2 separate regions of the Homo sapiens genome follow, and region 1 is linked to region 2. Evidence: promoter capture Hi-C in human tissues and cell types (Jung and others, 2019). All regions are on one chromosome and are shown on one strand. Each heading gives the region's core, a stretch centred on a gene start or on the middle of the fragment in contact. The rest is flanking DNA. Distances are from core to core; before and after follow the strand shown. Region 1 overlaps TRIM36 (tripartite motif containing 36). Region 2 holds the start of COMMD10 (COMM domain containing 10).

Region 1 (4,097 bases), core at 89-2,588, 920 kb before region 2:
TCTGGTAACCAGCAGGTGCTCAAATATTTGTTGAATGAATGAATGAATGCCACTGGTATTTAATAAGGCATAGAACTTCAGTGCTGGAGATATGGCATGTGACAGAACAACTGGCCCAACCTACCACCCACAGCAGAAACACCCTCCACAATATTGCAGACAGTGGCCACCCACCCATTGTTTTAAACAAAGTCTTCAGATACTGATGGCCCAAATGCTGCATGGGTCACAGCCAAAGACATGTTTTGGCTGTCCTGCCCTATTGAGCTGGTGTGGTATTGTTAAATAATCTGAATTGAAAATATTTAAAAAACAGATTTCACATGGAAACCACTATCAAGTTTTTGTGAAAAACCAATAAATCTGACAATCTGGCATCTTCAACCCTGACACTGCCAAGTGGTTACTGCCCCCTTTAACAAGGCATCCGTTTCAGTCTCCACAGTCCCAAACCACACTCTACTTCTCCAATAAGGAGTCGTAAAATCAGTTGGCTGCTGTCACTTTGGGCTGATGGTTTTCTTACAGTAGTTGAGCTAAAGGGAAAATCAAATATTTATTGTCTCCATATTTACAGCGAAAAACTAAAATGAAGGAGAGTCCTATATTTATTATGCCTGGGGCTCTCTTCATTAATGCACCCGTTTGGCCCTGCAGCATCTAAATTTGACACCTGATGTAAACACATTTAGTGGCAGAAGTCTGATATACTTAGCCCATTTCATTTCTGGACAGCCTTAGTGGGGTGTGTGTGCGCGTGTGTCTTCTTTCATGCTAAGTTAAATCTGCCTTCCTATTCCATCTACTCATTGACCTGGAACCTCTGCTAGAGATATCCAGCATACTCATTCTATCCATAAGAAAACTATCATATTCTGCAGTCACCCCTTCTCATCTCCTGTAACTGTTCTTTACAGAGAAAAGTTTTCAAACTCCACCATTCTAAGTTTCCCCTCTCAGGACATAATCTAACTTCGTAGGGTTCTTCCTAAAGAAGAGGGAGAAACATCCCAGTAATGCTATTTCGGATCTAGACAGTGAAATGTATGGTGTAATGGAGCTCATATTCCAAAAGACAAATGCCATTATTACTGAATATAAGCCATTGTGGCACTCTCTGTACAAATCCTGTGGCAGAGGTTTCTCATTCAACATCCATTCAACAAATATTTATTAAGCATCTACAGAGTACCATGTCAGGTAAATTCCTGAAAACAGAAAATCATTCATCTTGTTCTTCATATGAATCACATAAAAAACTAGCCAAATCTTAACATTAAAAGCCTACAGAATTTTGTGAAATATGTATATAAGTGCAATCTAATTATAAGTAGAAATATCTAGTACATAACTAAAATTTTATTTGTTTTTGCTAAATATTAACATACAAAAAGTTTTCTTTGGTCAATCAAGCATGGGTTCCCAATTAGCCAATGAAGATCTACCAGCAGAATATCAAGTTTTATCTAGTAGGACTGATTTCAAGGGATGCTGTCTTTCCCTCCTCAGTGCGCCAGATTGGCAGCAAGGGAGGAAACATAAAGGTGATGACTAGCCATTAGGTAGTCCCACTCCTTAACTCTGCAGTATTTATTTTCCTATTACCATATATGAATGTTTTCCTAGTTAGTATTTCAGTAGTCCATTATTCTATGTATCAAGTACATTGCACAGTCAGAATAATTCCTAAAGACAAACATAGCTTTTTTTTTTTTTTTGAGACAGAGTTTCACTCTTGTTGCCCAGGCTGGAGTGCAATGGCGCGATCTCGGCTCACTGCAACCTCCGCCTCCCAGGTTCAAGCAATTCTCCTGACTCAGACTCCCAGGTAGCTGGGGTTACAGGCACGCGTCACCACACCTAGCTCATTTTGTATTTTTAGTAGAGATGGAGTTTCTCCATGTTGGTCAGGCTGGTCTTGAACTCATGACCTCAGGTGATCCACCCGACATGGCCTCCCAAAGTGCTGGGATTACAGGTGTGAGCCACTGTGCCCAGACTTACAAACACAGTTAATAAGGAGTTTAACACAAAGTTCATGTTCAATATCCAATATCTACTTCAAGTATGTATCAAAAGACGAGAGTTCATTTTGACATTTTAACAGTGGGGGAGGCCCCTTTATAACTACAGTTTTAATTTATTCACCTGGAAAAATTAACTCTCAAGATGACAAAAATAATTTTCCTTCCAGTTACCACTGAATATATATCTATAAGCTTACCCCCACTACCATCCCAGCCCACAGTTCTAACACATACCTGGTCTGTTAATTCGGTCAATTTTATCCATACTAGGGGAGGGGAGCCGAAGTCGAGGACTGCTTTGATTGGAGTTGTCTGATCCCACATCGTTGAATGAATCATCGAGAGTCAGCAGGAGTTCTTTTACACATTTATGACAGATACTATGTTGGCAAGGGAGAATCAATGGGTGGGTAAACAGCTCCTTGCATGCTGGGCAAATGAGCTCCCTTTCGATATTCTTAATGGTAACCTTGAGAGTAAAATAGTCCAAGTTAAAGGCTCTTAGTGGGTAAATATATTAACATTCTTATACCTCCTGAATAAGTACATGTGTTTATTTTTCCAAAAAGAATTAAGAAAATGATTTTCTAAATTTTAAATTTCTTTTCCCCAATAAAATTTGATACCATCAACTGCCCTCAACACCCATAACCCAGAACTGAAGGAACATGAGATAGTAAAAGGCAAAAATGAAGAGAAAAATTATGTAAAATATTAGGGGACCATGATATTTTATCAAAAATTATAAAGCCATCATTCGAATCTCCATCACCAGTGCACTGATTTAGGACTTCGGTGAAATCCTAAAAGTAGATCATGTCAATAAAAATTTTGAATACAGCACTAAGAGTAAGACTATATTCTTATTTAGTGAATTAACACTGTGACTGACAAATAACAGGAGCTATTAAACACTAGCTGAGTCAGTATGTTCATGGAAACCTAGTTGGTATCTATTTACAAGCTGAATTATCAGCAATTTTCTACATTAAATGCGACCATTCTTCATTAATGCCTGAGGTTCTCATGCTGTATATCAAAGCAATTATCTTAAAAGCACTTTATGAGTATGTATTAGTCCATTTTCACACTGCTATAAAGAAAATTACCTGAGGCTGGGTAATTTATAAAGAAAAGAGATTTAAGTGACTCACAGTTCCACATGGCTAGGGAGTCCTCAAGAAACTTACAATCATGGCAGAAGGGGAAGCAGATCTGTGTTACGTGGTGGCAGGTGAGAGAGAGCAAGAGCAGGGATACTGCCTTACAAAACCATCAGATCTTATGAGAATTCGCTATCACAAGAACAGCATGGGGAAAATCTACCCCTGTGATTCAATGGCCTCCCACCAGGTCTCTCCCTCAACACCTTGGGATTACAATTCAAGATAAGATTTGAACCTAACCATATCATTGTGGCCCTGGCCCCTCCCAAATCTCATGTCCTCACATTTCAAAACCAATCATGCTTCCAAACAGTCCCCCAAAGTCTTAACTCATTTCAGCATTAGCTCAAAAGTCCAAGTCCAAAGTCTCATCTGAGACAAAGCAAGTCCCTTCTGCCTAGGGGCCTGGAGAATCAAAAGCAAGTTAGTTACTTCCAGGATACAATGGGTGTACAGGCATTGGACAAATGCTCCCATTCCAAATGGGAAAAATTGGCCAAAACAAAGGGGCTACAGGTCCCATGAAAGTCTGAAACCCAAAAGGACAGTTATTAAGTCATAAAGCTCACAAGTGAGATCTCCTTTGACTCAATGTCTCTCATTCAGGGTACGCTGATCCAAAGGGTGGACTGCCATGGCCTTGGGCAGTTCCACCCCTGTGGCTTTGCAGGGTACAGCCCACACACCACCTGCTTTCATGGCTGGCATTGAGTATCTGCAGGTTTCCCAGGCGCATGATGAAAGCTGTTGGTGGATCTACCATTCTGGGGTCTGGAGGACCATGGTCCTCTTCTCAGAGCTCCCCTAGGGAGTGCCCCAGTGGGGACTCTGTGTGGCGGCTTATATCTCACATTTCCCCTTTGCACTGCCCTAGCAGAGGTTCTCCATGAGAGCTTCGCCCCTG
Region 2 (4,113 bases), core at 570-3,069:
AACAGTTTTAGTTGGTTAGTGGTTCTACTTCAGGTAAGGAATCAAGACAAAAGGGAAATGATTCAAAGAATGAGGGAACTGGGACCCTTTTAAGTTGCAGATGAGGTCATCTGTGTTTGGATCAGAGACCTATAATTTATGTAGATTCACATACATCTTTTTCAGATATGCATACATTGGGGACTGTAGAGTGTTGTGGAACTAAATGTATTTGTATGTGTTCAACACACTGTATAATTGACTCAATTATCCATGTGGAGATTATTCAGATTTAATGTGCAATCTGGTTTCTCCTTTCAGTTAGGTTGTTCTTGGGCTGCTCCAGGAACTCCAACTAATTTAAATAATAATTTAAGTAAAACATAATTAGGAAGGAAAATTAAATTCAATTTTTTGGCAGCTCTTGAATATTCTACTGCTGAAACGTAACTAATCCATCCACTATCTTTTAATTCACCAATGCCTTTTTAGTACCACAGGATTTTACTGCTTTCTATAGATTATTGCAGTAGTTTCCAGGTAGCTCTCCTGCTTACCTCTTTCCATTTCAATCATCATTCTGCTGACAGCAACCTTCAAAAATCCAACTCCCACTGCAAAATTTCTTTGGTTCAAAACATTTAATGGATAGAAAAAACATTTAATGCTTACCCATTTCTCACCAGATTAAGTGCACATGCCACAACCAGTCATTAAAGGCTTTTTCTAGTCTAAATTCCTGTTCTTCAAACGTCAAACCGCCCTTCTACTCTACTGACCTGAAACACACAGCCTCACCCTCCACATCTCTGCAGACCCACCGCATTTGCCACCTGCCCTAGGGAGCTTTTCCTGATCTTACCTCGGATGCCTTTCACTGCTCCCACATCTGAATTCCTTTAACTCACTCCATGTTTTTCTCAAAGGCAGACCAAGGTATTTATGCAAACATGGTGTCTCCCTAGTCTTGGGTGAGGTCTTTGACATCACTCACTGCAGCGATTCATCTCCCCTACTCTGCACTGTCAGACTCTAAAGAAGGGTGCAACAAATACTTGTCCATTTAGACTGCCGGCAAACCCTGAGGGCAGGAATTTTGGCCTTTTGTATCTCCAGTGCCTAGAACAGTGCTTGGTACACAGTAGGCACTCATTCATTGAACGTTGCTGAAGGAATTGAACGTACATACTACAAGCCCTGCAGATGCAGATACAGGAGGGGTTGACGGCACAGTGCTTAGGGTGGAACTGGAGGCACCACCTCTCCTGAGGGGTGATGCGCCGCTTCCTGGGCAGGCTCGGGGGAGCTCGCTCAAATGCCTGCCTCTCTGTAGCCCAAACGCTGGAAAAAAAAATACTCACAAATCACCTATCCAAGTATGTACACACAGGCTCACTTAAACCCGCCCTATTAAAAAAATATACACACGCACACACCATTTATCCAAGTATGTATACACGGGCTTGCTTAAACCTGCCCTATTAAAAATAATAATGTATATATTTATGCACGAACATACACACATATATCTATACAGGTCTGTACATAGACTTGCTTAAACCTGCCCTATTAAATACAGACACACACCCCTATCCAGGTATGTACATACATATATAATATATAAATATAAAGACATATATATGCACAGACTTAACTCCAACACGATTGGAGTGTCGGGAGGGCAACTGGGCTGCCCTCTCCGCCCTCCAGGACTGCGGGACAAGTCTCCCGGCGCCCGGGTCGCAGGAGACCCGGAGCCCTAAAACGGCCCCTGCGCGGCTTGGGCCTTCCGGCTTTCCGTCCGCCGCGGCCGCCATTGGCTGGGTTCGGCGCAGCTAACAGACGGCGGCAGTGCGAGAAAGCCGAAGATGGCGGTCCCCGCGGCGCTGATCCTACGGGAGAGCCCCAGGTAGCTGATCCGTTAAGCTCTTGCGGTAGCCGCGCCCAGGAAGGCCCAGATCGGGCTCGCACAAGGCTGTCCTTGCTGCCTGCCGCCTGGGCGCCGCGGCGGGCCCGGTTGAGTGGGGTGGGGTGGGGTGGGCTGCCGAGGTTGCGACGCTGCGTCTGCGGAGTGCGTGGGGCCGTGTAGCGCCTCTACAGTCACGGTGGTCCACCTGTGGGGCTCACAGTGCGCCTGGCAGCTGAGGTCTGTACGGAAGCGTGTGGTCTGCAAGCGTGGGGTCTGCGTCACTGTTCGCGGAGTTTGGTATCAGAAGTTCCCGGGTGCTGCCTTCAGTGCTGCCGAATCACGTGGAACGGTATTCCGTTTCCGATTTCAGTTCCGGTTCAGACACTCTGGTGGGAAAGGCTCACGCTGCTGCTGGAGGGTCTTTAATAGCCAACATGTGTTAATACCCCTTTTAAATCAGTATCGAATAGGGGACCGAATTTTTGGTTGGTAGAAGAATCTAGCCTGGCTTTGGTAGCATTTGCTTTTATTTGCATTTTAAACAGATTTTTAGTTAATTTCTACTTATGGTAGATAAAGTTGGTTGTCCATGGTAGTGATATAAAGCTCCCCTTTAACATTATTTAAGTAAAAAAAGACTCAATTTGTGAAAAAATAAGCAATAGTGCAGGTAGCGTGTGGATACAGAAAAAGTACTGAAGTATATAGGCAAAATAGTGTTCGGAAGTAATTTCTTTGTGCTTGGATTGGGTAGAAATCTTTCAGAAGAAAAGAGTTATTTTAAAGTTTTTCCTTCTTTCTGGATTCCTTTTGTTACCAGTGGAGGGTGTCCAGGTTCTTGGCGTCTTGAACAAAGAACTGGAGAAGACGCACAAAGAAAGCGAGGAAAGAATGAAGAAGACATTTATTGAAAATGAAACTACCCTCCACAGTGTGGGAGCTGCTTGAGCATAGGGGCTGAAGGGCCCCTACAGAATTTTTGGGAATTTAAATACCCTCTAGAGGATTCCATTGGTTACTTGGTGTACTCCCTATGTAAATGAAGAGGATGAAGTAAAGTTACAAAGTCATTTTCTCCGCCTATGCCATATGGAGAGGACATTTCTTGTCATAGCTGAAGTGGGAATCAGCTTTATGTTCCCAGCCTCCTGACCCTATTTTCCTGCCTCACTTTGGTTCTGATCGCCAGTTTCTTTCCTCATACCAGTGTCTTGGGGAACACCGCTACATCAGTAAACTGTATCCAATATGGTGCAGTATAGAATTGTTCTCATCACATCATTTAAAGTTGATTATTACAGGAAAGGTGCTGTGGCTCATGCCTGTAATTCCAGCACTTTGGGAGGCTGAGGCGGGCTAATCTCTCTCTCTTTTTTTTCCCTGAGAGGGCGTTTCCCTCTTGTTGCGCAGGCTGGAGTGCAATGGCGCCATCTCGGCTCACTGCAGCCTCCGCCTCCTGTGTTCAAGCGATTCTCCTCCCTGAGCCTCCTGAGTAGCTGGGATTACAGGCACCCGCCACCACGCCCAGCTAATTTTTTGTATTTTTAGTAAAGATGGGGTTTCACCATGTTGGCTAGGCTGGTCTGGAACTCCTGGCTTCGGGTGATCTGTCCTCCCTGGCCTTGCAAAGTGCTGGGATTATAGGGGTGAGCCACTGCAGGACTGATTGAGCTCAGGAGTTCAAGACCAGCCTGGGCAACAGGGCAAAACTCTGTCTCTACAAAAAATACAAAAATTAGCCAGCGCTGTGGCCCGCGCATGTAGTTCTAGCTACTTGGGAGGCTGAGGCACAAGGATTCTTAGAACCCAGGAGGCAGAGGCTGTAGTGAGCTGAGATCGTGCCACTGCACTCCAGCCTGGGTGACAGAGTAAGACCCTATCTCAAAATTGATTACTGTTGTAATAATAAATTTGATTTTACAGTTGAAACAGGGTTTTAAAATAACTGTGTGCTTAGTGACCCCAGATGATTTTGTACATAGTATTTGAAAAGTTATTTGCCTTGCAGTATTCTTTTATGTTTTTGGTGTAATTGCCATAATTGCTATTCCTCTCCTCCCACCCCTTTCAGAGTTCCATTTTTGGGTTAAGTGTTTATATAAACGCTCTACTAAATTAAGGCTCTTCCCTGCGCAGTACAAGGTTTCCCTAGTAGTTTGGTTTGCCCAAAAGAAAGAGAAAATTTGCCAAATGGACCTTTTCAGCAGAAGTAATTTTGGGGGCAT

What was found. The method cuts DNA at HindIII sites, captures the fragments that hold promoters and counts their contacts. A contact is called where the count stands out against the background at its distance.
Region 1: a contact is called between a fragment that was not itself captured here and the fragment with the promoter of COMMD10 in region 2, in 1 of the 25 tissues and cell types used here (spleen).

What each region holds. Positions count from the first base shown.
Region 1 is chr5:115,161,257-115,165,353 of GRCh38, forward strand. It overlaps TRIM36 (tripartite motif containing 36), which reads right to left. Exons shown (of 10, transcript NM_001300759.2): 2 at 2,262-2,496. Among named protein-coding and RNA genes, the nearest start is that of TRIM36, 6.6 kb to the right of the region's middle. The HindIII fragment of the contact is 5,784 bases long and covers 1-4,097 here.
Region 2 is chr5:116,083,206-116,087,318 of GRCh38, forward strand. It overlaps COMMD10 (COMM domain containing 10), which reads left to right and starts at 1,820. Exons shown (of 7, transcript NM_016144.4): 1 at 1,820-1,888. The coding sequence starts at 1,848. RefSeq lists enhancers at 1,614-1,773, 2,067-2,361. The HindIII fragment of the contact is 16,445 bases long and covers 1-4,113 here.